Linked DNA regions of Homo sapiens: all the other regions are linked to region 1. The links are contacts of gene promoters, found by promoter capture Hi-C in blood cells and fetal thymus (Javierre and others, 2016). All regions are on one chromosome and are shown on one strand. The core of a region is centred on a gene start or on the middle of the fragment in contact, and the rest is flanking DNA. Distances in the headings are between cores, read along the strand shown.

Evidence for each region. The method cuts DNA at HindIII sites, captures the fragments that hold promoters and counts their contacts. A CHiCAGO score of 5 or more calls a contact.
Region 2: a fragment that was not itself captured here is called in contact with the fragment with the promoter of KIF3B in region 1 in 1 of 17 cell types (M2 macrophages); the score reaches 5.6 in M2 macrophages.
Region 3: a fragment that was not itself captured here is called in contact with the fragment with the promoter of KIF3B in region 1 in 1 of 17 cell types (activated CD4 T cells); the score reaches 5.4 in activated CD4 T cells.

What each region holds. Positions count from the first base shown.
Region 1 is chr20:32,276,140-32,278,928 of GRCh38, reverse strand. KIF3B (kinesin family member 3B) reads right to left here and starts at 1,278. Exons shown (of 9, transcript NM_004798.4): 1 at 1,164-1,278. LOC124904885 (a long non-coding RNA gene) reads left to right here and starts at 1,386. Exons shown (of 2, transcript XR_007067561.1): 1 at 1,386-1,625. RefSeq lists silencers at 903-1,082, 1,103-1,262 and enhancers at 916-1,426, 1,473-1,522. The HindIII fragment of the contact is 2,066 bases long and covers 1-1,583 here.
Region 2 is chr20:32,444,647-32,447,702 of GRCh38, reverse strand. It overlaps NOL4L (nucleolar protein 4 like), which reads left to right. Exons shown (of 11, transcript NM_001256798.2): 11 at 1-3,056. The coding sequence ends at 107. Among named protein-coding and RNA genes, the nearest start is that of ASXL1, 88 kb to the right of the region's middle. RefSeq lists an enhancer at 1,620-2,281. The HindIII fragment of the contact is 7,271 bases long and covers 1-3,056 here.
Region 3 is chr20:32,511,717-32,514,713 of GRCh38, reverse strand. All of the region lies in intron 3 of NOL4L (nucleolar protein 4 like), which reads left to right. All of the region lies in intron 2 of LOC101929698 (a long non-coding RNA gene), which reads right to left. Among named protein-coding and RNA genes, the nearest start is that of NOL4L-AS1, 48 kb to the left of the region's middle. The HindIII fragment of the contact is 4,104 bases long and covers 1-2,997 here.

The sequences.
Region 1 (2,789 bases), core at 29-2,528:
AAAAAAAGGATTCTTAAGCAGGTCCTTCCCTTTACTTTTCTGAACCTCAGTTTCCTCATCGGCAAAATGAGGATGACATCACCAGGCACCTGGCAAAGTCTACATAAAGATTAAATGAAATAATATGCCTGGTAAAGTGCTTCTTAATCATATGCTTGTAAATAGTTATTACTGCTTTAAGCACTTCCCAAAGGACACAAAGATGCCTTTTTTCTTCTGGAAGGGTCAACGAAGCCCAGGTAGAAAATGAGACCATGACCCCAGCTATCTACAAGGGGTTGACCTCAAAGAGTTTCCCAGGACTACTTGTAGAAGTACCTCCCTTGCTCTGAGCAGAATGGAGAAGTAAAACCGGGGTTGGGGGTTGGCATTGCAGTAGGACTACCCATATGAGCTGGCACTCTACACACCTACACCTTACCTGTCCCAAAGTCATCTCCTCCTGGAAGTCTTGCCCTCCTACCCTGGACGCCTCATAATAGCTGGTTGAGCACTTACTATGTGCCAAGCTACTTGACATACCCAGTCTCACTGATTTCCACAGTAGTCTATTACCTCATTTCACAGATAAGGAAAAGAAGACTCAGAGAAATTAACTTGCCCAGGGCCACACAGTTACTAAGTGGAAATGCCACGTCTCTAACTCGCTCAGACTTCAAACTGCCCTCTTGGTCTCCCATCTAGGGTGCCCTAAGAATTCTCCCTCTCCCCATTTAGGGCACTTTCACATACACTTCTCATTATCTTTACCACTCTGAGCAGCAATGTTAGGACCCCATTGAATAAACAGGTCAGCTAAGGCCAGGGAGGTGAAAAGACTTGCCCAAGGTCACACAGCAAGCCCAGCACAGCGCCGAGGTTCGGACCCCAGGCTCTCGCTTCCCCGCCCTCCTCCCAAACTGGGGCCCTGACCACCGCCTCAGGGCCCCCAGGTGGGCTGCGACCCAAGGTGGCCGTGTCTGGGGGTCGGGCCGCGACCCTGCCAGGGGAAGGAGGGGCAAGGCCGTCCGGACTACCAAAGGATGCCTAGGAGGCAGGGCAGAGGATGCTCCGGCTCGCGGGACAGCAAAGCCAGGCAGAGGCGCGGGCGCAGGTCGCAGGGAAAACCCCAGGCGGCCACAGGATTAGCCCTGCTCGGTGGGCGCCCGGCCCCTCCGACTCACCTGAGGCCCGAGCCGAAAGCGGGCGGCGGCGGCGGCGGCGGCGGCGGCGGCGGCGGCGGGGGCGGCGAACCCCTGGCTCAGCCATTCCCCGCTGCCCCGGATGGGGAGAGACAGTGGCCGCTCACTTCCTTAGCAACCTGGCTCGGCGACCCACTTCCTTAGCAACCGGTGTCAATTTCAATAACTTTATTGGCACACGAGCAGAGGACAGGGAAAGCCGGCTGGAGGGGTCTGGGCGGGGCTCAGGTCGGTGCTGGTGTTTAGCGGGGGCCCAACACACCTCGGTCTCCTCACCCACCTAAGCGGGGAGAGTGGCGCACAACGTGGCCTGACTCCATCCTCTGGTATCTCGTGCCTCAGTTTCCCATCTGTAAATGGAACACACGCGATTTCAGCCGCCGTTCAACCTTTCTAAAAGCTTTCACATCCATTATCTGACTGGTGTCTCAAACTGCTACTGAGGTAACTCCCATTTAGGGTGCCCCCAGTGACTCAATACGAACACCTATAGGCACCCTTGTTGTAGCTTTCCTGTCCTTCACCCAATCCAGTCAGTCACAACCGCCCCAGGCAAGGCCAGGCCACGCTCATCTCTAGCCTGCCTGAAATATCTGGTCTGTTTCCATTCTTTTGTCCAGCTCTGTCCGAACAATCCATTTTCCATAAGGTGGCCAGAGTAATTATTTAAAACAGATCATGCGGCCAGGTGCGGTGGCTCCCGCTGTAATCCCAGCACTTTGGGAGGCTGAGGCAGGTGAATCACCTGAGGTCAGGAGTTCGAGACCAGCTTGGCCAACATGGCGAAACCCCGTCTCTAATAAAAATACAAAAAATTAGCCGGGCGTGGTGGCGCATGCCTGTAGTCCCAGCTACTCGGGAGGCTGAGGCAGGAGAATCGCTTGAACCCGGGAGGCAGGGGTTGCAGTGAGAGAGATGGCACCACTGCACTCCAGCCTGGGCGACAACAGCGAAACTCCGTCTCAGATATAAAGATTAAAATAAATAAATAAATAAATAAATAAATAAAACAGATCATGCCACTTTCTGATTAATACTCGATTTAATGGAGTCTCATTGCTCTTAGAATCAAATATGAAGTCCTTATTACTTCCTGCAAAATTCGTTAAAACTCTATTCCAACCACACTGGCCTAGAAGGGCAGGTTCCAACCCCCATGGAACTTACACCTGCTGTTCCCCACTAAATAGAAACTGCATAAGAGCAGTCTTTTATTTGTTCACTCTTGTATCCACCATGCCTGGAACCAAGCTTAGTCAATAGTAGTTGCTGAACAAATATGTTTTGCTCCTTGAATAAATGAATACCTGAGATGGTCTTCTTCATCTGCCTACAACTACTTTTTGCCTGTTGTGGCAGATATTGCTACTTCCTCTCAAAAACGTTATTTCTTCCTGCTCCTGGACACACAACTAGACAGTATTTCCCAGCCTTCCTTACAGTTCAGACCAAGTTCTGGCCAATTAAATGTGATGTGTGCTATTCTCAGGCCTGGCCCATTAAAACTCCCACATAATTTGATTTACACTTTCTCTACAGTGAAGAAGTTTATTTTTAAATAAAATAATAAAGGAAATACCAAAAGAGACTGCACCCAGCCTCTTTTGG
Region 2 (3,056 bases), core at 367-2,866, 170 kb before region 1:
CGGAGATCAGCGCCGTGCGGCAGCTCATCGCGGGCTACCGGGAGTCTGCTGCCTTCCTGCTGCGCTCTGCAGATGAACTGGAAAACCTCATCCTACAGCAGAACTGACCCCACCGGCACCTGGAGCGCACTGCCCTAGGGAAGGAGGCTGTCCCAGCCTGGACCTGGCTTCCTGCCTCACCAGTTGGTACATTTTGTTTTTGAAAGAGGTGGGATCCAAAAGAGCTGTTTCTAGCCACACTCCAAGCACCTGAGACTTTGGGCACAAGGACACTTTTTTTTTTTTTTTTTTTTTTTTTTGGAATCTCACCACACGGGTGCTCTGACCTGCTTGGAAGAGGCCAACGGGGCAGCTCTGGAAGGGTTGGGGGCTCCCCTGACAAGGCGCTGGGGCTGCAGCTCTGTTTAGAATCACCTTCGTGGACCCTGATGTTAGAATCCCACCCCCAGATAATTACCTTTCAAGTCTTAGGTGAGCAGAATTGCATATTTATTGAGAAAAGCAAAGTGGACCCTTTCTTCCTCTCCCCTTAGTAATTTATTTTTCTGAAAATGGATTCTTTTGTGTTTGTACAGATTGCTAGTCTGTGTCTGTCTGATCAGAAGGATGTATCCCCATACCTAACATTCCATATCACTACACTGATGTGGGCTGGGGCCAGTAGGGGCAGGACAGGTGCCAGGCTGGCTGTTCCTCTGCATGCCTGGTGCACCCTGTGGCCGCTAGCCCTTGGCCAGGCCATCCTGTTGCAGATCCCAGTGCTGCCACAGGGACACCACCAGGCACCTCCCTAGGCAACGCCAAGCAGGAGGACCTCACCCACACCCATGGCAAAGCAAAACAAAAGAGGCACCCCGACCCCATTCTACAGAAGCCCCAGTCCATGGTCACCTGTATTCTACCTCACACTCCAGCGTGGGCTTTTTCCAGGATGTGCCCTGAGCCTGTTCTGAACAGCTGTAACCCCAACTCCCCCACACAATGTGTCTGCCTGGGAGGTAAGTAAGTCCAGACTGGGTGTCCAGGAGCTGGAACCCAGAGAGCGTCCTGTCCCTAACCAGCCACTGCAGCCCTCCAGCTCTGGCCCTCAGCTGCTTGACAGGACGGACTGCTGGGAGATGGCAGCCGGTTGGCAGGGCCCTTGCCCTCACACCCCGCTGCCCAGGAGCCAGGTCTGAACTTCTGTGCACAGGCCTGGCCCCTCAGACTCACTCCTGCCAAGAGGGGCCACTTCTTCAGGGTGAGCCCCGGCTATCAGGCAGCCGTGAGCTCCAGGGCGGGCTGCAGCTCCCATCCCCTTGCGCCATGTTTGGAGTAAAGGGATCAGTGGAAGTGGAGGAGCCACTTGGGTTCTCCTAAGACCAGCCCTTCCGGAGGGGCCGGTCCTGGAAGAAACCCATAATCCCTGGAGTGTGAAAAAGGGCAAAAAGAAAAAGCTGGCCTGGTTTCCTTCCTCCCTGATTGATTGATTGATAGGCACTTCCTCTTGCTCAGTGCAATACCTACCAGTGCTGCTAAACCAGGGACTCGCCCAGACCTCAGCAGGCCCCCAGGGCCTCTCCGTGCAACACTCCGTAGCCATGACAGCAGCTCTCTGCTGCCCGCCCCTGCCCAGAGCTGGCAGAAGCCCTCTGTTGCCTTTCCTCCCTCAGAGCAGAGAGGCCCCAGGGGAGCCAGGGCCGAGTGGATCCTAGGATGGCCACGGAGAGCCACTCGCTCCCAGAACAGGCACCCCTTCCCAAACCAGCTTTTCTGCAGCCAATTGCCTGTTGCAGCTGTGGCCACTGCCTCCCGGCACTGTGGCAGACTCCCCCCAAGGAGGGATGGGGGGGGCACCAGTGAGGATGCCCCATCCTGCCTCAGGTCCAGAACTCTGAAAGGTAGGGTGCCCACCCCGTGCTTACTTCCGGCCCCTAGAGGTTGGGGGTGGTCGTTATCTCTCAAGTGGCCTCCAATACCCCATCCAGCCACACCACCTCTGCCTTCCATCTGACCAATCCCCAGGCCTCTGGTCAGGGCCAGGACACCTGAGACTCACCCTTAGCACAGCACAACCTCCAGTGCCCAAGGCCTCTCCCACACCCCAGCCATCCACACATCTGGCCCCACCTGCTCAGTACTACTCAACATTTGAATTCGTGTAAATATTTATTTTTGTGTGTGAACAATACTACAAAGTAATCAGTAAGATCTTTTGCAAAAATGTTACCCCAGGCAATTATTTGTGAAAATCTTAATGTTAAAACCTGGCAGAGACAATCGCCACCCTAGAATTCCTGGTATCAGTTACTTAACGTGTCACTTCTCCTCCCAGAGGCAGTACCCAAGCTAGACATGAACCGTTTGCATTTCTTGGCAGACAGGAGTGAGAAAGACTGGGGAAGGGGCTCCCTCCCCCTACCCACACAAGGATTAGATCTAAAGATCAGCATAAGCTACAGTTTGAAGTCATGTTTTTCTGAGTTCAAGCTGTTGGAACTGACCACCCTCCAGCCTGCCTTAGTACTGCGGCAAGAGCGTAGGTTCAATGTGTTTTCAAGAGAAAGGAAAGAATATGTTGTTAAAGTCCATTGGGCCTCCCAGGCCCCTCCAGGACAATGGATTTCATCATGTCGACCCCACCTCTTGGGTGGGCTCCTCCTTTCCAGTGAAACTACACCTGAAGCCCTAGAGATGGCAGAATCAGGAGCAAGTTTCTGCATGGAAACAGGATTCCATTTAGCTGGCTCAGTCAGGGAACTTGTTTTGCTTTTGTTTTAAAAGATGCAGCTTCAACCCCTTCCCCCTACTCCCGACTTGGAGGGCACCAAAGAGCTGGTTCTGATGAACTAAGCTCACTGCTGTCTCACCCTCACCAGAGGGACTGCCTTCTCCCAAAAGGAGCTCCCAAAGCCCTTGTCCCACAGCCATTTAAAAATCTTCTGAAGGGCCTCAGGGCACAAAGTGATCATTTGGGATCCTAAGTTAAAAAGGAAATGCAAGAGTAGGATACTCCAATTCCAGAGTCTTTGCAGGAGGCTAATCCCACAAGAAGGGTAGCATCAGAGAAGTGGGCA
Region 3 (2,997 bases), core at 41-2,540, 240 kb before region 1:
GTCAATGTATGGGGCTAGGGTTTAAAACCCCACTGAGGTTAAGAAAGTCAAATCTAGGTTGACGGTGGGGTGGAAACCCATTTGAGTTTGGTATCGGTGCAGAGGATCCCTGCCACCCAACCAAGCAGAAGTCTCTCTTAAAAAAAGGAGGAGGAGGGGGTGGTTCCTTTCAGGCCAGTTTCTTAGCCATTCCATTAGTGACATTTACTTTTTTTTTTTCCTTGGGACGGAGTCTTGCTCTGTCACCAGGCTGGAGTGCAATGACATGACCTTGGCTCACTGCAACCTCCACCTCCCGGGTTCCAGTGATTCTCCTGCCTCAGCCTCTGAAGTAGCTGGGATTACAGGCATGCGCCACCATGCCCAGCTAATTCTTGAATTTTTAGGAGAGTGGGGGTTTGTCATGTTGGTCAGGCTGGTCTCCCAACTCCTGACCTCGGGTGATCCGCCTGCCTCAGCCTCCCTAAGTGCTGGGATTACAGGTGTGAGCCACCACACCCAGCCGACGTCTACTTCTTCCTCAAAGAACAAAGAATGAAACATTCTATATGTGACAGGGTAGCTTTAAAGAGCAAAACTAAGTTCTGCATTCCTGTAAAACTTTATTCAAAATGTTATTTGATCTATAAAGTCACCAGAAGTACACAGCGTCAAAGAGGACCCCCATCCTCTAGGCCCCAGCTATTCCGGGTCCCCACCTTTTCTGCAGGGCTGTTCCTATCCTTGCCAAGCAGGAACTTCCCTTGTCCTCTTTGGGTAACTTCACCGCTTGTTGGCAGACTTTTTTTCCTTTTTAAATTATGGTAAAACATTTACAGCACAAAAACTTGCCTTTTTAATAATTTTGTTTGTTTGTTTCTGTTGTTGTTGTTGAGACACAGTCTCTGTCACCCAGGCTGGATCGCAGTGCTGCCTCAACGTCCTGGGCTCAGGTGATCCTCCCACCTCAGCCTCCCGAGTAGCTGGGACTTCAGGCACGTGCCACCACACCCAGCTAACATTTTTACCTTTTAGTAGAGACGAGGGACTCACTATGTTTCCCAGGCTGGCCTTGAACTCCTGGGGTCAAGCAGTCCTCCTGCCTCTGCCTCCCAAAGTGCTGGGATTACATGCGTGAGCCACCGTGCCCGGCTTAATCGTTCCATTTTAAAGATATTATATTCACACTGTTGAGCAATCATCACCACTATCTATTTCCAAAACTTTTTCATCACCCTAAACAGAAACTCTGTACCCATTAAGCAATAACGTCCCATTCCCTCAGCCACCAGTCCCCAGTAACCTCGAGTTACTTTCTGTCTCTTTGAATTTGCCTATTCTAAGTATTTCGTGTAAGTAGAATCATACAGTGGTTGTCGTTTTATGTCTGGCTTCTTGCCCTTGGTATCGCGTTTTCAAGGTTGCAGGGACCCTTTTGGGCTATGGCTCTTGAGGGGCAGGTATTATAAGTCACCCCCGGATATCCTCTGGTCCTCCTGGACCTCGGCCCTGTCACCCTGCAGCCTGTCTCTTGGGCCTCCTTGTGATGGTAGAGGGCACTTGGTCTGGAAGTTGCTCCCACTTTTCCTCACGCTATGGAAATCCCAGCCCATCAGTGGGACTATGTACCAGGGGCACCTTTTGATTAAAAGGCTGGGGCAAAATGAATCTGGCCTGAAGTCCTTGGAAGAAGGAGGAGGAGGCCAGGTAACAAGTAATTGAAACAATTCCTACAGCAGCTTGGTCAGAGATTTTAATGGTTATCAAATTATGTCCCTACCTTTTAATTTCTTGTAATCTGTTCCAAAAAGGCAAGAAATAAGATCAGAAATACGGAGCAATATTTATGCACAAAGATGTCCCCTGCAGTGTTGTTTATAATAGCCCCAATGGGAACAACCTAAATAGCCAATCGTTAGAGAATGACTTAAGCAAATTATGGTAAAATATTACATGGCCATAAAAATTCTACTTACAAAGCAAAATAAGATTCTTGATGTTGGGGAAAATACCTATGACAAAATGTTAAGGAAAAAAAAACTTTTTAAAAGCAGACTGGAATTCTCTGTATGCATTATGAGATCATGTGTAAAAAAGAAAAATCACAGGGAAAAAATAAACAGAAGCATATGCCAAGCTGCGTGGTGCAATTATGGTTTTTAAATTTTTTCTTTACATCTTTCTGTACTTTGCAAATTCTCTGCAAAAAGAACATGCATCACTTTGATCTTCAGGACAACAAAGGAATAAATGGGAGGAGAATGTTCCTCTGCATATGATGAAGGAGGAACCAGAATTTGGGGGCTACTGAAGGCCTGGCTCAGACCTGGGAGGCATAAGGCACCTGAGGATGTTTTTGGGGGATGCTATGGGGTGGCGGGATTGGGTGAGGTGAGAGTGGCATGTGTTCACCTGGAAGATAACTGACTTAGACAGTGGTTGGAAACACAGATGCCTTCAAGGGTCTGGCAAGTATCATAATTGATACTTGCAAATGAGCAAAGCTGTGCAATATGATAAGGAGTGGTGGGGACTGTGGCAAAATGGGAGCCACACACCCTGTCTAAAAGAAGTGGCTGCTGAAGTGGCAGTGGTTGCTTGCCTTCGGGAGTGGGGGCCCCATGTGGCCAGACCTTATGTTCTTCAAAGAAGCCAAAAATTCCTATAAACGTGTGTGTGTGTTGTGGGGGTGGGTTTGCTGGGTTTTTTTGTTTGTTTTTTAGAGATAGATTCTCACTCTGTTGCTGAGGCTGGAGTGCAGTGGTGCCATCACAGCTCACTGCAGACTGCAGCCTTGACCACCTGGCCTCAAGCGATCCTCCCACTTCAGCCTCCTATGTAGCTAGGACTACAGGCACACACCACCACGTCTGGCTAATTTATTTTATTATTTGTAAAGACGAGATCTCCCTGTGTTGCCCAGGCTGGTCTCGAACTCCTGGGGCCTGTGTCCCCTCCTGGGGCTCAAGGGATCCTCCTGCCTTGGCCTCCCAAAGTGCTGGAATTACAGGCATGAGC